2 separate regions of the Homo sapiens genome follow, and region 2 is linked to region 1. Evidence: promoter capture Hi-C in 16 types of primary human blood cells and fetal thymus (Javierre and others, 2016). All regions are on one chromosome and are shown on one strand. The core of a region is centred on a gene start or on the middle of the fragment in contact, and the rest is flanking DNA. Distances in the headings are between cores, read along the strand shown.

The links. The method cuts DNA at HindIII sites, captures the fragments that hold promoters and counts their contacts. A CHiCAGO score of 5 or more calls a contact.
Region 2: a fragment that was not itself captured here is called in contact with the fragment with the promoter of DPYD-AS2 in region 1 in 1 of 17 cell types (M1 macrophages); the score reaches 5.1 in M1 macrophages.

What each region holds. Positions count from the first base shown.
Region 1 is chr1:97,794,923-97,800,186 of GRCh38, reverse strand. DPYD-AS2 (DPYD antisense RNA 2) reads right to left here and starts at 3,266. Exons shown (of 3, transcript NR_046591.1): 1 at 3,115-3,266; 2 at 2,892-2,972; 3 at 2,136-2,719. All of the region lies in intron 3 of DPYD (dihydropyrimidine dehydrogenase), which reads left to right. The HindIII fragment of the contact is 2,382 bases long and covers 3,238-5,264 here.
Region 2 is chr1:98,050,979-98,055,814 of GRCh38, reverse strand. It overlaps LOC124900404 (a long non-coding RNA gene), which reads right to left and starts at 1,436. Exons shown (of 2, transcript XR_007066241.1): 1 at 1,312-1,436. RefSeq lists a silencer at 1,335-1,594. The HindIII fragment of the contact is 2,886 bases long and covers 492-3,377 here.

The DNA.
Region 1 (5,264 bases), core at 2,017-4,516:
CATATATTTACTCAATTCTTGTGACACTCCTATGAAGTAGGTATTATTACTTAAATTTAAACTACCATTATTACTCTAATTTTACAGTTAATATGAAGACATCTACCTTTATACAAAAAATAAATGGCAAATATGGAATTTGAATGTTTCTATAGTCTAGTTCTTGTGCCTTCGCTAAAGGACTTTGCTACACAGAGATCCTGAGGAGCATAAATATCACTACTAATGGGGGAATTGAACAAGTGAAATGGGAGGTTTGGAGATGTGCATTGGAAGAGATGATGATTGAATTAGAAAATTCAGAAAGAACACACTTTAAGGTAACAACAAGGTTCTGTTCTAGGCAACGTGAACTTTCTTTCCCCCTGCTACCCTCCAGTGGAACAATTCAATGCTGCAGGTATAAAATACTTTACCTGCATTTATTGAAGATTATCTTTTTCATGTATCATTTTTGAGACAAAAAAAAGTTTTGATAAGACATTGAGATCTTAGTAATTTTGTTATGGATTTTTAAGAAAATGGATTAAAGTATTCTCAGTGAAAGCTCCATGGGAGAGCATCTTGAGGTAACAGTCTCAAGAAATGGGTCAGACTGGGATAAAGACCAAATCACAGAGTAGCAACATATGTTTATTTCAGGTTATGATAGATCACATAATTTGTACTTCACCTTTATTATTTCAGATAACTAGCATGGAGTTTCAGAAGGTGATTTTTTTTTCAGGATGAAAGCTTATTCATGCGGGTATATCTTTGGCTCTAGAAATTACTGTCATATACTCAGTAACCTTTTTGAAAACTTGCTGATTGATCATACAAATCAGGGTCATCATTTGTGTTTCTCAAGAAATACTGAAGCCACTCCAATAAATAAACTTCATGGTAACTTGTTGTTTTTACTTGATGTAATGTGACTGGCTAACCATTGTATAATGTCTCTGTGCTTCCATTTTGCATTCTATAGGGCTAGAGGAGGTGTACCACTGTGGAACAGTGTACAGGCTTCCAGGCTCACCTTGATATAGGAACAAGCTTGGCCTAAAGAAGTCAGTGTGGATGAAGTTTGGTGGAGGGAGATGAATTACAAGACTATACAGGACTCGTTTCCTTGCCATAGAAAGGAATATGAATTTTAATTTAATGATAAGAAGCAAGTAGAGACGTAATGTCTACCCCTTTTTATAGGTATAAAATGGAGATTCAGAAAGGTTCCATAATTTGAAGATGGGAGTCTCATAAGTGGCAAGGCTGGACTTTATACTCCTGTCTGCCTGTTACAATGCCTATTCTTTTTTCAATACCACCTTTATTATCTGGTACATAGATACTTAACAAATGTTTCTGAACATATATGTGCTCTGTGATACAGCAGATGAAACTTTAAATAACTGAAGTGAATACATTTAAAAATACTTTAGATGCATTTATTAAAAGATAACAATAACAACAAGCTTTATTTTGATCATTTAATTTTTCAATAATGTGTTAAATACTTTGTATGGATTATCTTATTTATTCTTAATAACAATCCTGTGAGGTAGGTACTATTATTATGCCCATATTGTACGTACATGGACAAATATCTTCACCTCAATACTGTGAGGTAGGTACTATTAGTATACTCATTTTATAATAACAAATATTGAATATTTAACAAATATTGCAAATCTATACTTAAAATGGGTAGAATAATAGTACCTGCCTCACAGGATTGAGGTGAAGATATTTGCCCATGGTCATACACTGAGTAAGTGATAAATTCATAATAGCAGAAACTATTTCACTATTTGCTTGATTGTCACAGGGAATTCTTTGAAACCATGTTTATATTTGTGGTTATTCTGTGTATGACTAGATGGTTATAAAAGTTTAAAAATTAATTTCATAGTTCACATTTTTAATTTTCTATAACAATTCAGAGAGACTATCCAGACATATGAATTAGGAGAATAATTCTGAAGAAATAGATGACACAGCAAAGGACTCTACATATAGGTTAGGACCATATTCTTGTTGGGAAGATGGCCAAAAAAGAATTTTGAGGATATTTTTTCAATTATTTAACAAATATTGAAAATCTATTATGTTCCACTTGGAAAAGAAAGAATTGGTGGGTAGGAGCCAACTAAGATCCAATAAACTTTTGTCTGTGACTTAACTCTTCTGAAGTTGTCAGAACGTTATGTTCCCCAGAGTTAGTTGTTTTGGTTGACAGAAATCTATGATATGCCAAATAAAGACTTTCTAGTTACTATTAACTTTGCCTTGCATGTAGAAAGAAAATATTACTCATCAGAACTTATCATAAATCTTAGGATGCAGTCATATCCCTACATATATTTTGATTATTTCAAAATCAAATATATACTTTAAAAAAGGCTTACTATGTTTTGAAGGGTTCATATTTTTTTTCTGAAAAATGGCAAAATAGTGCTGGCCTCATGATGCTTGGTTTAGTACAGGAACATACATACTAATATAAACAGTATGCCCAGCCAATTCATTATCATCCTGGAACTATATTCAGCCTGGCTACTATCATGAAAGATGAGTAGAAGCAGTGAGCTGGCAAAGCTGGCCTCTGCCTCTGGTTGTTAAGCTGTTGGCAGCTCAGGATGCATGACCTTTCAAATATACGCTTCTAATTCAGGACTTCTTATGATGTCATGTAGTTATGTTCTTCCCTTTTAGTGTATTCTCTCTTCAAAATTCTGTGCTGAAAAAAGGAAAAAAAAGAAATGTAAGCTACTATCCTTTTGGCCAAATGTTGAACTTTTCCTTCTGTAACTTTGTAGGTAGGAGACAGCAGAGTAACTGATCTTCCTACTGAAATGAATTTCCTTGAGCAAAATTATTTCAAAAAATATGTCTGGTATCTTTGTTTATACCTCAGGGTTGCCGAGCTGTCAGCTGCATGCCTGCTTTTCATTGAAGCATATGTATATTTGTGTATATATGTGTTTGTATGGCTTCCAATAGCATAGTAATAATTTCAGGGGAGGAAATAGAAAAGAAAGCAAGATAAATGTATTACATTTTTGTATTTCCTCCTTGCATTTTTTTAAAGATAAGACTCTGTTGTAAAATATAAACTGGCAATTTGATCATTACTTGTTATTCATTTGAACTAGTTCAGTCAACAGATAATGGACAGTGAACAGAGAGACCTCTTTTGGTAAGCCATGTAGTTTTTCCAGGGGTGATTGTTATGCTATGTGTATTTAGATAGAAGCTTTTCCCTGTGTAATCAGCTTGCTGCTGCCCATTTTACTGCCAAACATTCCTTCTCTATGGTAGCATAATACTGTTACCAAGGGAACAGCTTATGGCCGACACATACAGTAGTGCCACAAATTAATTTCACAGTTATCAGGATATAAGGTGATAACAGTAACGTGAGCTACTGTGAAATTACCATTGTTCCCACAGAGTTAGTGTAATTATTACTTTTGTGGTAACTAAGCAAATAATTCACATCACTACTCCTGGATGTTTGTTCTCTCTTCTCTGTCTCACCCTCCTTCTTTGTCTTTCCCTTTCCTTCCTATATTTTCCTCTTTTGTTGATTCAGACTCTCTCCCTGAGTCTCTTTTCACAATTACCAATTAATGTAGAGTATTTTTTATATTGGCATTAAGAAAGAGTTTTATTGAAGTGGGGTGAAGGCATCTCATATATGTAACTCATGGGCATAATTAGGATGTTCACTTCTATCAAAGATATAAAGGACTAAAACAGTGTATTGAGAGGATACATTCAATTTGTGATCAATGTAGACTCAGAGATTCCAGTTTTATTTTCATAGAATGTTAACTTCATGTGTTGAATAGAAGGATCAGTTTAATGTGATTAAAAGCAGTGGAGAAAAATTAACTTCCCTAATTAGCTGTGTTGCTTAGGACAAGGAAAACAACTTAGCTTTTTAGTACTTACATCTATAAAATTGGGATAATAATAATGCCTACCTAACAGAATTGGTATGTGGATTAAAAGAGATATGTGTGAAAGTGAATTTTAAACTGTACAATAAAAGTTTTAAGCTATTATGATCATTGTCATATAAATGGGGATACATCTGTAAAATGGGGTTAAGTATATTCACCTAACAGAATTGGTATGTGGATGAAAAGAGATATGTGTACAAATGAATTTTCAGCTGTACAATACAAGTTTTAAGCTATTACCATCATTGTTATATTTTAATGGAGGCATCTTTTGATGATAGCCTACCCTCATTATCAGAAAATTTATAAGGATAATTCAAAATAACAGCAGTAACACAGGGAAGAACACTTTTTATTGCATTTTATTATAATAAAAAGAGTGTTTCATTATACCTAGGGCACAACAAAATGAGATGTTATCATTATAAAATAACAGTAATTTTAATAATGAAATTTTCCAGAGAATGAGTCATATTTTTTATTGTTTTTATTGAGTATATGTATATGTTAATTAAAATTTCAGCATTGAAATATAAAATAATATAGGAGTGTGTATAGTATGTCCATTATTTTTTAAAAAGCTACAATGGTGAGTACATGTGAAATATGAGTTGTTCACTATGTCAAAAAGTGAAGTTGCTAAGACAAAGGTAAAATTATAGAAATGAGTTTATGTAGGAATGTTTGTTTTTAATTGCGTCAATGTGCATTATGATCTTTAGTCTCCATTCTATGTTATTTTGCTTTTAAAACGTATTTTATGTATTCTGTTAGCAAGATCAGCATATAGCTAACAGTTAGTATCAGTTACTAAATGTTGAGTAGTTAATTATGTATTTATTTATCATTCTAACACTATAAATTATACACTTTTAGCAGTTAGAAAATTGATACATGATAGAATAAAATAATTTGATGAAATTTGTAGCTAGGCATATTTGTTGAATGAATGAATTAAATATGGTGAATATGTAGTAAACTGCCTCCCATTGCTAAATGTCTTTTTAGAGAGGGTAGGAAATTAAAAATAATTATTTTCTCATGTAAATTTTTCTGCCACCCATTTTGAAGTTACCCAACACTGGTAACTTTACATAAAGAAGTATGACTTTAACTGGACTCTGTGCTCATCCCATTAGTTAAGACTGCTTTCTCACATTATTATTATTTTGGAAATAAGTAAAATTATTTTTATTTCCTACTCTTATTTGTTCTCTACAAAGAAAATCTAATGTGATCTACAAAAAGATACTAGAACAAACAAGATTAGGTATATTGCAAGATTGATATACAAAAATCAAATATATTCTAATCACT
Region 2 (4,836 bases), core at 685-3,184, 260 kb before region 1:
CTGTAAAATGAGAAACTATCGTAGTACCTAATCCACAGGATTGCAGTGGAAATTAAATGAGAAAATGACGATAAAGGTTGCAACACAGCACCTGGCAACGAATAAGCACTCAACACATGTTAGTTTTTATTGTTATAATTGCGATTTTATCCTCAGGAGGAGCTGCAACTCTTTACGACCTGTTCAGATCTCCTGGATTGATGAACACAGAGGAAAGATACCAGATCCCTCTTCATTTCAGCCCCATCCCCTTACTTATTAGCAGTTCAAAGATTCTGCCATCCACCTGAAAATACCAAATAAGAAAACAGACGCCATTTTAAAAGATTGTCTCGTGGATCCTGCCTAGATAGAACAAACTAATTCCGGGGACAGTAAAAAAAAAGTCCTTTGGCTTCTTTCCCCAGAAGAGTGTGTGAAGAAAGTAGAAGCAAATATTAATAGTACTGATCACTTACTAGACCTATCTATACTTATTTTTTGCCTAAGCTTTTGAATTTTTTTCTTAAAAAACTATCATTCTCCAAAGACAGTAAACATCCAGAGGCAACAGACTTTACTAAAAGTCACAATAATCATAGCATACTATGCCCATCTCTAACTCAAGGCTGCCTGAATAGAAAGAAACATTGTGATTTCTAACAACCTTTTCCTGAGAACAGAGAAGCACACAGCCTATTTCACTGTACCACTCAAAGCATATAGCCTATTTCAAGGTTAAACTAGTTTCAAAACGCCATACAAAACTAAGTCATGAATTGTCTAGATAAACAAAACAATCACTTCCCCAGTTCCATAGTGAGGGGTGGGAACACAGGAAACCTCGCAGAAATGGATAACTCTCTCTCTCTCCTCCTCAGTATAAGAATGAAAACTTTTCGGCCCATGCTAGGACTTGGGACTGAAAGTAGGATTCACACTCAGATACGGGAGGAAGGGTTAAATTAAGAGGAATCTGTCTTCCTTTACCCTCCCTCTCCCCAATTCACAGAATAATTATTGGTGTCTACAACCTGAAATATTAGTAAACATTTCCTCCAATAGCTAAGGAAATGCTTCCAGAAACATGCACATCGGTAGTGCTCTTCCAGACTGGCAAGTGTGGGTTTGAAGTGTGTGCGTGTGTGTGTGTATATATATGTGTGTGTGTGAGAGAGAGAGAGAGAGAGATTTTGATGCTTGGAAAACATATTCTAAAAAGCGGCCATAATTTCTTTTTCAGGGGGGCCCCTTTTGGCTCCTTCAGACCTCAGCCCAGAGAACCAGAGAAGGGTCAGAGACGCACGAGGGAGAGGCTGAACTCACACTTACCTTTGACCAGTAGAAGAGGTGAGAGTGGGGTTTGGCGCTTTGTTTGTTTTTGTTTTGTTTTCTGTTGCTTTTAGCACGCCCCCAGCGCCAGGGCACTGGAGGGTGGAGGCGGGTCCGGGCTGGGCAGAGCCCGCGGGGCGGAGGGGACCGAGCGGGCCGCCGCGCCTGCCGCGTCCGGCCAGCAGGGGGCTCCGGCGCTCTTCTCCGGGCGTATTGGGCTCAGCCCGCGCGGCCCGGACCTCGGGCAGGGCAGGGGATCTGGAGAAGGGAGGACCAGGGGAGGAGGGCGAGAGCTTGAGAGAGACAAACGGGGGTGAGCCGCACAGCGGGGTTCCCCAAGAGCCAGCGGAGCCTTCTCGGAGCTGCTTAAGACCTGACAAATCCTGGAGGAGCCAGGCGTTTTCGTGAACGGGGTCTGAGCCTCCGCCTTACCAAGGCTCCCGAGTCCCGCGGGGCCGTCTTGCTCCGGCCTCCAGCCCGGGGCGCCCTTGGCCCGACGGGCAGCCGTCCTTGCGAGGGCGTTAGGGAGTGAGCCGTGGTCTCTGGCCCAAACTCGGGAGGACAGCAGAGAGCTCGGCCAGGGCTGCGGGGAGAGCGATGACTCCCACGCCCCCGCGTCCGCACCAACCGCGCCTCGCGCTTCTGGAGCCGCAAAGCTCAGGCCCACTTAGAGAGGCAACGATTTGTCTATGGATGTCCTGTGTAACCACACCTTTGCTTTGGCTTCCTTTCCTCGATCTGAAATCCAAGGTGGTGGTTGATTTTTTCGCTCTCCTACTCTCCCAGAGGAGGCCCCGGTCCGAGCCAGCGCTGGCGGGCTGCGGCTGCTGAAACTAGAGTTCCTGTGGCCAGAATGGTGCCCCTTGCCCGCTCCAGGGCTTCAGAGAAGAGCGAGCCCGGCCCGGGGCTAGGGTGTCCGGCCTGCCCCGCGAAGGCGCGCTGGGCCTGGAGACTTTGCGCTCTTCACTTCGCCAGACGAGAGTTTAGCCCGGGGCCCGTCCGCGACACCTGGCCTCCGGCGGTTTTCGGGACCCTCTCTCAAAACTGCGCGAGCGCCGAGATCACTCTGGTATTAGCTCCCTTTAGATGAGGAAGGCATTGTATCTTTCTAAGGGGGTCTCTCAGACCTAAGTTATTTTGGTCTGCAGTGGTAGTAATGGCCTTGAATTTGTTTAAACTTACTGCCCACGACACCCTCTCCCCAAATCCCCCTACACCCACACAGTACGCTCCATCACGGCCACCACCACTCCCACTCCATTTGCATTTGAAAACCTCTGGAAACATAAGCGCTTTCAGGATGAACTCTCTCTCTCTCTCTCACTCTCTCTCTCTCTCACTGTCTCTCTCTCTCTCTCTCTCTCTCACACACACACACACACACACACACACACACACACAGCCCGCCAAGTGGAAACTGAGTTGAGTCATAGGATGCATATGAATAGGATTGGATGGTCCTTTGCTTCTGCGGATAAGAATGTTTAATAACCCAGGATTCCGGGCAATAACAGCATTACAGGGTTTCTAGAACTCTGTTCTGATCCTTTAGAAATTGTTAGAACAATAGTAATGATAGTAGGAGGAGAAGTAGGACTATGTTTTTCAAGGCACTTGCAAGCAATCTGCTACATCGTTTATGGGAGAACTTAAAAATATTCCCCTTGATTAAGACTCACAGGTCAAATATCATCTCTCTTTTCTGCATGCTAATTAAAAGCAACTCTGTTCTTAGGTATTTGACAGTCATTTGAATCAAGATACTTGAAAATTTCTGACTCAATAGCAATGTGCTTCAGTACACACAATCAAGTATAATCATATATATGTGAGATATGACTTTGAAGAGGAGATGACTTTTTTAAAAAAAAGACGCATACTCAAAGACAACTAGAAATGGCTGCTGCAGGCAACCAGTCACTGCTCTGACTACAACATATTTGTGCAATTAATAGTCTCACAACCTAGTCCAAATCCCCTCTTTACTTGGAGCAGGAGTGTTAATGAACTGTAGATGCAAAGCTCTTAATGTATAGATGTAGTGTCCTCTTGAAATTTAACAAGCTTTGAAAATGTAATAAAACAGAGATAAGTATTCAGGTTATTTTTAGTTTGTGTTGGCTTGTTGTGTTTTTAATATTGTTTAAAATATGACACAGTTATCCTCAGTTCCTATCCCATATGTCCATTCTGGAGGATCCAGAAAACATATCAGTAGTTAGGGTAACAAAAAATCCTCCAAAAAAGACCCAAGTTTTGCCAGTAAACTTTAAGTCTTTATTGAGCATTTCATAATAGCTTTAAAAAAACAAAGTGCGGTTCATGTTTCTAGCTACTTTCATACAATGTTGAAATAATACTATAATTTGACTAGGTAAGATTCTTATTGATTGCTAATTTGGTGTTAGAATTGATTATATTTCACATAATGATATCCCACTGCTCAATGAGATGAATATTTATGTAATAGGGAAATACCATTGCTGGTTTCTTTACAACTCAGTGTGAATAGCCACATCGTTGACTTCCAAAGAATAAAAGAATCTTTCCATAAACCTTCTGAAGTCGTTTCTATAAACTTGCTCCACTTTCTAATATTGTGAAAGAGTTGATGTAATTTAATTTCTATTCTGTCAATTATAAATTTATTTCATCTTGGCAAGGTGCCCTATTTGGAAAAGTTGATTGTGGGAAAGGATGATAGTATAGCAGGAATATGGAGGTTGAAATAATGTTTAATTTTATAATCAAGATAAATGGTGTAATTGACCTCATCATATCAGGAGCAGGGAGAATCTGAAATGGTTTGATTTGCACACACTTCATTGAGTCTACCAAAAGCATACTGATATCAAATTGCCCAGGGCTATATATTTATTATGAGAATTCATAATTCCAATCCTGTTACATATGTTTTTTTTTTAATTTTGCTGGATCTTATGGAATAAGGATAAGGGAAGATGAAGAAAACTATACTAAATGTGTCAAAATGCTCCTTGTATCACAACAAAGTGGATGGTTTACTCAATGCAGCTAAATTCTCAGAAGAAAAACTGAAGTCACATCTTTAAAGAGCATTTTTCTTAATGTACTACCTATCTGTAAATAAATAGTTTAAACCATAATGAAAGCAAACTTAAAAAGTTGACTCTAGTTAAATATTGGGAGAGACTGAGTAACTTGTGTACCATCAATTTCCTGAGGACTTGGCCAAATTCTGCCTGCACTTTCAGCCTAACCTGCAGGGGGCAATAGCTTGACACGAATGACAACAAAGGCTGCTGAACTATTAGACTTGAATATCTGACTATGACCCTGGAATGTTGTGTAGGTTGGAAAGAGTGCTTAATTAATGTATATTGAAACAAAAGATCAGGTAAATTGTTTGATTTGTCTTCAAGCTATATTTTTAGACTAATTTAATTCATAACTGTTAGGTTTTTTTTTCCTTAAAGAGATTATCAAAGTTTTAGGAGACACATTCATCTTTAGAATTTTCCTGAACACTAATTGTTTACTACAGAA